Regions from separate parts of the Homo sapiens genome. Here region 2 is linked to region 1. The links are contacts of gene promoters, found by promoter capture Hi-C in blood cells and fetal thymus (Javierre and others, 2016). All regions are on one chromosome and are shown on one strand. The core of a region is centred on a gene start or on the middle of the fragment in contact, and the rest is flanking DNA. Distances in the headings are between cores, read along the strand shown. Region 1 holds the start of SH2D4B (SH2 domain containing 4B). Region 2 overlaps PRXL2A (peroxiredoxin like 2A).

Region 1 (3,388 bases), core at 344-2,843:
CTCCCGACGGTCCTCCAGGGTGGCACCATCACCGTTCTCGCCCGCCTCCAGCCGGCCCATTCCTGCTGCTCCCTACAGCGTTGTCCCTGCCCCGTGCCCTCTTGTGGTCGTAGGTATCTGGCGGCCCGGGAAAGACAAAAAGAAGCTGCCCGCAGGAGCCCAGACCCTGGGGGCCTTCCTCCCCTTGTCTCCTCTTTGGACTCGGGGGTCTCCCACCAGCCACGGCGAGGGGGAGAAAGAGAATAGCTGGGCAGAGGCTAGGGAAGACCCCCGGTCTCAGAAACTGAGGGGAGCCAGGACTCCCGGTGGGGGAGTCGGTGCAAGCCCTGAGGTGGGTGGATGGGAGTCCAGGGCCACAGCTCTGCAGCGGACAGGCGAGTCCTGTGGCGGCTCTAGGAAGGTCTGGGCACACTGGGACCAGCTAGCTGGACCTGGGTGGGGAGGGGTGGGGCGTCTGACTCCACTCCTGTGACCTGGACATTGCCTAGCTGAGCAGGAGCTTTGACCCTATGGGCTTACAGCTCATCTGAATCTGCTTAGTCCATCTTCCTGTTGTGTTAACCTTGCAGAGGGGGAAGAATGCCAACTCTCCACCCCTCTTCCATCACTCTTGGGTACCTGATCCACCTTCCACCCTCATGGGCAAGGAAGGGGACAGGAAGGTCACCAATCCAACCAAGCCACAGTGCCAAATCCTGTTGGTTCGTTTGTTTTCCCTTGGTTGGGTTATGTTTTCAAACCATCAACAGATTCATAGTTGCTAGTGGATGTCAAATTTCAAAACGGGGGAGTCCCAATACAGTGACTTGTCCATTAGGAAGCCATAGGCAAGCCACTTACTTTCTCTGAGCTTCAATATCCTTGTCCCAATAAGAAGGCATCTGTGATTTGCTCTGAGCACATATTTAGGGTGAGCTTTCACCCTAAAGATCTCAGCAACGGCAGCTTCTACCCACCTTCACACACCAAAGAGAGGGTGGCTTCCCTCCCAGCAGAAGGCAACATCCCGCCATTCCAGTGTGCTTCTGATCAGGGCACAGAGAAGAGCCAGTTTCATCTTCTTTCTTTTTGGTCAACTCCAGGCATCTGCAACAAACAAGATTAACAACGACCATTAAAACTGGCCCCTGGAGGGTTTATCTGTCAGCCACGCATGGCTGCAGGATCTCATTATATATAGGCCAAAGGGAAAGGATGTCTGCTTCCTTTCTGTCCTGGAATTCCAAGATAAAATCCCCTCCAGTTGTCTCTACTGATTCCATTTTGTTTTCTTTCTTGGCTGTAACACAGATAGGAGGAAAAATCTTTCCTCCCCCAAGGCAGAGTTTTAAACGCATCATCTCAGAATGCCAAATGTTCTGGAAAGGAAGAAAGTTGGCAGCGAAGGAACCCGCAGAGAGAGGGGCTGAGAGGGCTGAGGGGCCCAGCAGCTTCTGGCAGGCTCCTCTGGTCTGTGTTTGAAATTGGCTGAAAAGACATGGAATTTAGTAGGCAAGTCTGCCTCCTTCTCCTCCTCTTATCTGCAGAGGAGAGATCAGTTCCCAGCTGGCCGGGGCAGTGTCATTGATATAGCTGGTGTCATTGTTACCTTCCACTAACAGATCACTCGACACCTACCAGCCCAGGCAGGGCTGGGACTGGGCATTTCCTGGCTGAGCTGGAGGCTTGGGCCCTTCCCATTGTCTCAGAACCCCAGGTGATGCCAAGACATGGGCTCTCCTGGGATGCCGTGCTTGGTGACCCAGGAGAAGGACTAGATTGCTCCTGGTGGTTGCTCCCCCTTGCAGAGTCCCACCTGCCCCTTTGGGTCCTGTTGCCTGGCCTCTTTTGCTGTCCTGGGTAGAGGAGATGAGTTCGTCGCTGGCTGCAAGCTGAGGCCAACTGACAATGCTGCACAGAGAAGGGGCACCGAGAGTGGCCCCGGATTGAGCAGTCCGTAGTGCAGAGCAGCCCCTCGGGCGTTCTGCCTGGCCCTGCTTCCCCTGCTGGCTGCCCTTCTGGTGCGTGCATCCCAGGTGGCATCATGCTGCAGCAGATCCTGCACGACATGTACATCGACCCCGAGCTCCTTGCCGAGCTCAGCGATGTGCAGAAGCACATCCTCTTCTACAAAATGCGGGAGGAGCAGCTGAGGCGCTGGAAGGAGCGGGAGACTTGGGAGGCCCTGGCCCAGGACGAGGGTCTCAGGCCTCCAAAGACCAAGCGAGGTACGTGGCTGGGAGTCACAGAGAGGTAGGCCACCAGTCCCCCAGGAGGTAGAAAAATTAGCAGGGCCAGGCTGTGCCCTTCTTCAAGATGGGCACTGGGGTGATGAGGGCTGGGGGCTTGAAACCCTTGTCTTGTGGGCATCAGGTCCCATGAGCCTGTGCTTTTGCCTTTTGGCCAGGACCTTAGGGCTTCGAGGCTGCTGCAGAGGCTGTCCAGCGGCCCTTATTGGAGTCGGGGAGTTGGGACTTGCTTTGTCTTGTTGTGGAAGGCCCGAGTTCTGGGAAGACACCATTGAGACTTCAGATTGTGCTCCGACGTGGTTGGCAATGGTAGGGTGAACGACGGCATATTTGTGACCCTTGCCATTGGTTCTGGGCCAGAGTGTGGTGTAGATATGCAGTTCCTTTCTCCTTGGCATGCGTGGCACACCAGTTCTTGGCTAGGGCCCCTTCTGTGGACTGTGCCTCTCCCTCCAGATCCTCCGGCAGGAGGATGCTGTGGGTTGTCTCTGGAGCCCCACTGGGCATCCGGAGAGAGGGCATCAGGGAACGTCCCACACAATGAATGACCATCCCCAAATGGTCGTAGCAACTGCAGATGAGAAGCAAGGGCCTAGCCTACATTTCAGGTGTTTTGTATGCAAAGTCATGTGCCAGTCAATCCTATGGACTGGTACACCTGTGGGTGAAGGAAATCATCCAGGACCCCTGGGCCAGAAACTGGCAGGCTGCTGAGGCTTGGCTTGGCACAGGACTCAATCCTGCCAGGGATTGTAGTTTCTGTGGATGCTGCATGCACTTTACAGTTTGCAAGGCTTATGTGCCTTCACCCTTTGAAGTTTTCAATCCAGAACAAAGTCCTGTTTCAGGGCTGAGCACACAGCTCCCTTGGTGATCTGGCTCTTCTCCATGCCAGGCTCACTGCTGGCCAGTCCCCACCAGGTGCCACAGGCCACACCCACATCATCTGGACATGCTTGCTCTTGTCTCTGGTCTTCACATGAGTGGCTCTCACCGTTGGGAATGTCCTTCTGCCTTCATCCACCTGACAGACTCCATCAGGAGTGGCCCCCCTGCCCTGGAGTGTTCAGGGATGCTCTTGCATAGGGCAGTACTTGCTCCTCTGTGGCTGCCTGGCATGTAGGACCCACGCCTGCCCTGGCATTTGCCACCCTGTCATT
Region 2 (3,388 bases), core at 323-2,822, 110 kb before region 1:
TTTTTCCAGAAATGTCCCACTTCTGAATGTTCAGGTTAGAAAAAAGATTTTCATGGTGGGAGGGACCTACCGGGTATATAACAGGATTCTTAAGCTTGGTTAACTTTCTTCAGGAAGGTGTGTATTCTGTCTGTCTGTGTTTCCTGTGTGTCTTTTCCCACGTGTGAAATGCCTGTCCAGGTCCTCTACTAGGCCGGGTCTCTGACCTTGGCTGGACTTAGTGTGGTTCATGAGCTGCTTAGTGATTGGGGCTGGGCTGGGAGGAGATATCGAATTTCTTTTTTTCCTCTCTTAGAACCAAGGACTTTCAAAGCAAAGGAGCTATGGGAAAAAAATGGAGCTGTGATTATGGCCGTGCGGAGGCCAGGCTGTTTCCTCTGTCGAGAGGTGAGTGCAGATGAGGATCTATTCAGAGAAAGGGATCCTGGCAAGTAGGGGCCATTGTTTTCCGGCCAGAACCAAGGGTCGGTAAGCCAGCTTTAGCCTTTTACCCACATGTTCTGTTCTGTTATTTGCTCTAGGTATTTCTTTGATTTGTGCTCTTTTTTTTTTTTTTTTAAACAACTCACCCTCTCCTACTGGGGTTAGCAACACATCTCAGTTTCCCTTAGTACTCCCAGGCCTTTCACCCTGTGCTGTACCTTCTGAGTCCTGGACCATATTCCAATTTAATCAGGGGCAGTGACCAGGTCCAATTCCATGCTTCTGATGCTCAGCACAGATATATGATGTGCCTGGATTGCTTCTGATTCGGGTGTGGTCAGTCCCTCCCTGTGATGAAGCTGCAGTGTCGGAGGAAACACTTCAAGGTTACCTATTAGAGCAGACCTGCCTGTCTCTCTTTCCTTGGGGAGCTCTTAGAGTCCATCGTGGACAGCTGAGAGCCACATTCTCACATGTTAGCTCTGCCTCCTTGCTGTGTGCTCTCAGCATTGAATCTGTAGCTCAGTGGGATTTCAGTCATGCCAGTAGTGCATTTGGCATGAGAGTTTGTTGAAAGTTGGAGCTCACTGACTGGGTGGTCTCCAGGTTGGCCCCTCGAAGGGAAGACATCATCTATTTGTAGGTGATGGAGCTTATCAGTGGAAGGAAGGAACTGTGATTGTTGAAACACAAAATGCTAGTGTGAGAAGGAACATTGCCACTACTTGGATCTAGCCTTGTCCCTTTATAGGTAGGCAAACTGAGGACCAGAGTGGTTAGTGGTCTGTTTGTGGTCACACAGCCAGTCAGTGGCAGAAGACCCAGATTCTGAAATTACTGCCCTGCCTGGGAGAAAACTGGGAATGACAGTATTCCTGCTCTTGAGACAACTTTGCATCTCAAGCAGTGGCTGTGGCCCTGTCCAAATTGTCATCCTCATTCTCCTGGTTCCCCTCCCTGACCCTGAGACACCACCTTTCAGCCTTGCTGATCTCTCCATGCTTGTGTGGCTGGGCTGGTGAAGAATCCACTTGCACTGCTGGATGCATGTGATGCCTGCAGTACCCTACCCCCAGGGCACTGTGTGCCTGCTATCTCAGTGGGTCCTCACCATAGCCCTTGGAAATACAGCTTGTTTTACTCTCATTTTATTATTCTCATTACAGAGGAGGAAACAGTTACAGAGGTTGTAACAAAGCCACCCGGATCGGGGAGATGTATTAATTTTCTGTTGCTGTAACAAATTACCTCAAACTCAATGGCTTTAACCAGCACAGATTTATCTTGTAGTTCTAGAGGTCAGAATTCCAAAGCGGAATCTGGTTGCATTCCTTCTGAAGACTATAGGGGAGAATCCATTTCTTTTGCCTTTTCCAGCTGTTAGAGGCCACCTATGTATATTGGTTTATGGCCCCTTCCTCTATTTTTAGGTCAGCAATGGCTGGCAAGTCAGCAACAGCATGGAAGCCTGTTTTGACTTGATTTCTCGGGGCCATTAAAATCCAGAAGGTTCCAAGAGCAACAGCTCTCCCTAATTATAACCTGTTTCCCTCTGTACTGGTCTGTGCCCACATAGAACATTTAGTGGAAACTTACGTTTCCAAAAAGATGGGTGGATGGCAATCTGAGTTATTTTGAGTGGCCCAACTAGGAGGTATGTGACTCAGTTTCCACGTCATGGCTTTGTATAGTGCCACACCAGGAGTAAAGAGCCAGGAAAAGTGAGTAAGACCTTTCATCTCAGCCAGGTGCAGTGGCTCATGCCTATAATCCCAGCACTTTGGGAGGCTGAGGTGAGAAGATCACTTGAGCCCAGGAATTTGAGACCACCCTAGGCAACATAGCGAGACCCTGTCTCTACAAAAAAAAAAAAAAAAAAAAAAAAAAAAATTAGCCAGGCATGTTGGTGTGCACTTGTAGTCCCAGCTTTTCAGGAGGCCGAGGGAGGAAGATTGCTTGAGCCCAGGAGTTCAGGGCTACAATGAGCTATGATTGTGCCACTGTAGTTGGGCAACAGGGCAAGACTCAAAAAAAAAAAAGGCCAGGTGCAGTGGCTCACACCTGTACTCCCAGCACTTTGGGAGGCCGAGGCAGGTGGATCACTTGAGGTCAGGAGTTCAAGACCAGCCTGGCCAACATGGCCCATCTCTGCTAAAAATACAAAAAATTAGCCAGGTGTGGTGGTGCGCCCCTGTAATCCCAGTTACTTAGGAGGCTGAGGCGTGAGAATCACTTGAACCCAGGAGGTGTAGGTTGCATTGAGCTGAGATTGTGCCACTACACTCCAGCATGGGCGAGTAGCGTGGGCGACAGAGCAAGACTCCATCTCAAAAATAAAAGACCTTTCATATCACAAAAAGGTGGTTTTTGATTATATCAAACACTGTAGTCCTCTGCTCTAGGGCAAAATTTGCCAGTCAGTAAAACTCTTGATAAATGTATTGTAATCAATTCTGCCTCATTAGTTGTTTTTTTTCTTACTCTAGAAAATAAATGAAAAATTAAATGTAGTTGCAACCATACAACAGCATATTTGTATTGGAGATGAGTAGACTGCATTTAAAAGGATTTTTGCTCATTCTTTAATTCTGACACCAAATGTGAAAAAAGGATTGAGTTCTTAATGTTGAAGCTTTACCATGACTCATGCAGTTTCCCTCATTCATCTAGCACACAGTTCCTGAGAGTCAAGGGTATCTGCATCTCAGCTCAGCTGCATTCTCCCCATTGTCCCCCTTCAAATCTTTCCACCTGGTATTTAGCACCTGTTTTATACCCAGCCATGTTCTAGGCACTGAGGGTTCCAAGAAATGGAAGACATAGTTTCTAACTATTAGAAACATTTGGGAATGTAAGAGACAACACTCAACTTAGTGGTAACATGCAGACTCAGTACAGAAAATGTCACCAAACAGGGAAGATAGGATATGCACAGAGAAGCAGGGCTTTACTTCAGGGTGGACTA

Evidence for each region. Contacts are between HindIII fragments. The CHiCAGO score rates a contact against its expected background, and 5 or more counts as called.
Region 2: a contact is called between a fragment that was not itself captured here and the fragment with the promoter of SH2D4B in region 1, in 14 of 17 cell types (activated CD4 T cells, non-activated CD4 T cells, monocytes and 11 more). The highest score is 10.4, in activated CD4 T cells.

What each region holds. Positions count from the first base shown.
Region 1 is chr10:80,536,309-80,539,696 of GRCh38, forward strand. SH2D4B (SH2 domain containing 4B) reads left to right here and starts at 1,594. Exons shown (of 8, transcript NM_001388272.1): 1 at 1,594-2,207. The coding sequence starts at 2,024. RefSeq lists an enhancer at 3,298-3,388. The HindIII fragment of the contact is 17,935 bases long and covers 1-3,388 here.
Region 2 is chr10:80,422,122-80,425,509 of GRCh38, forward strand. It overlaps PRXL2A (peroxiredoxin like 2A), which reads left to right. Exons shown (of 6, transcript NM_032333.5): 3 at 296-387. Among named protein-coding and RNA genes, the nearest start is that of PRXL2A, 15 kb to the left of the region's middle. The HindIII fragment of the contact is 2,961 bases long and covers 93-3,053 here.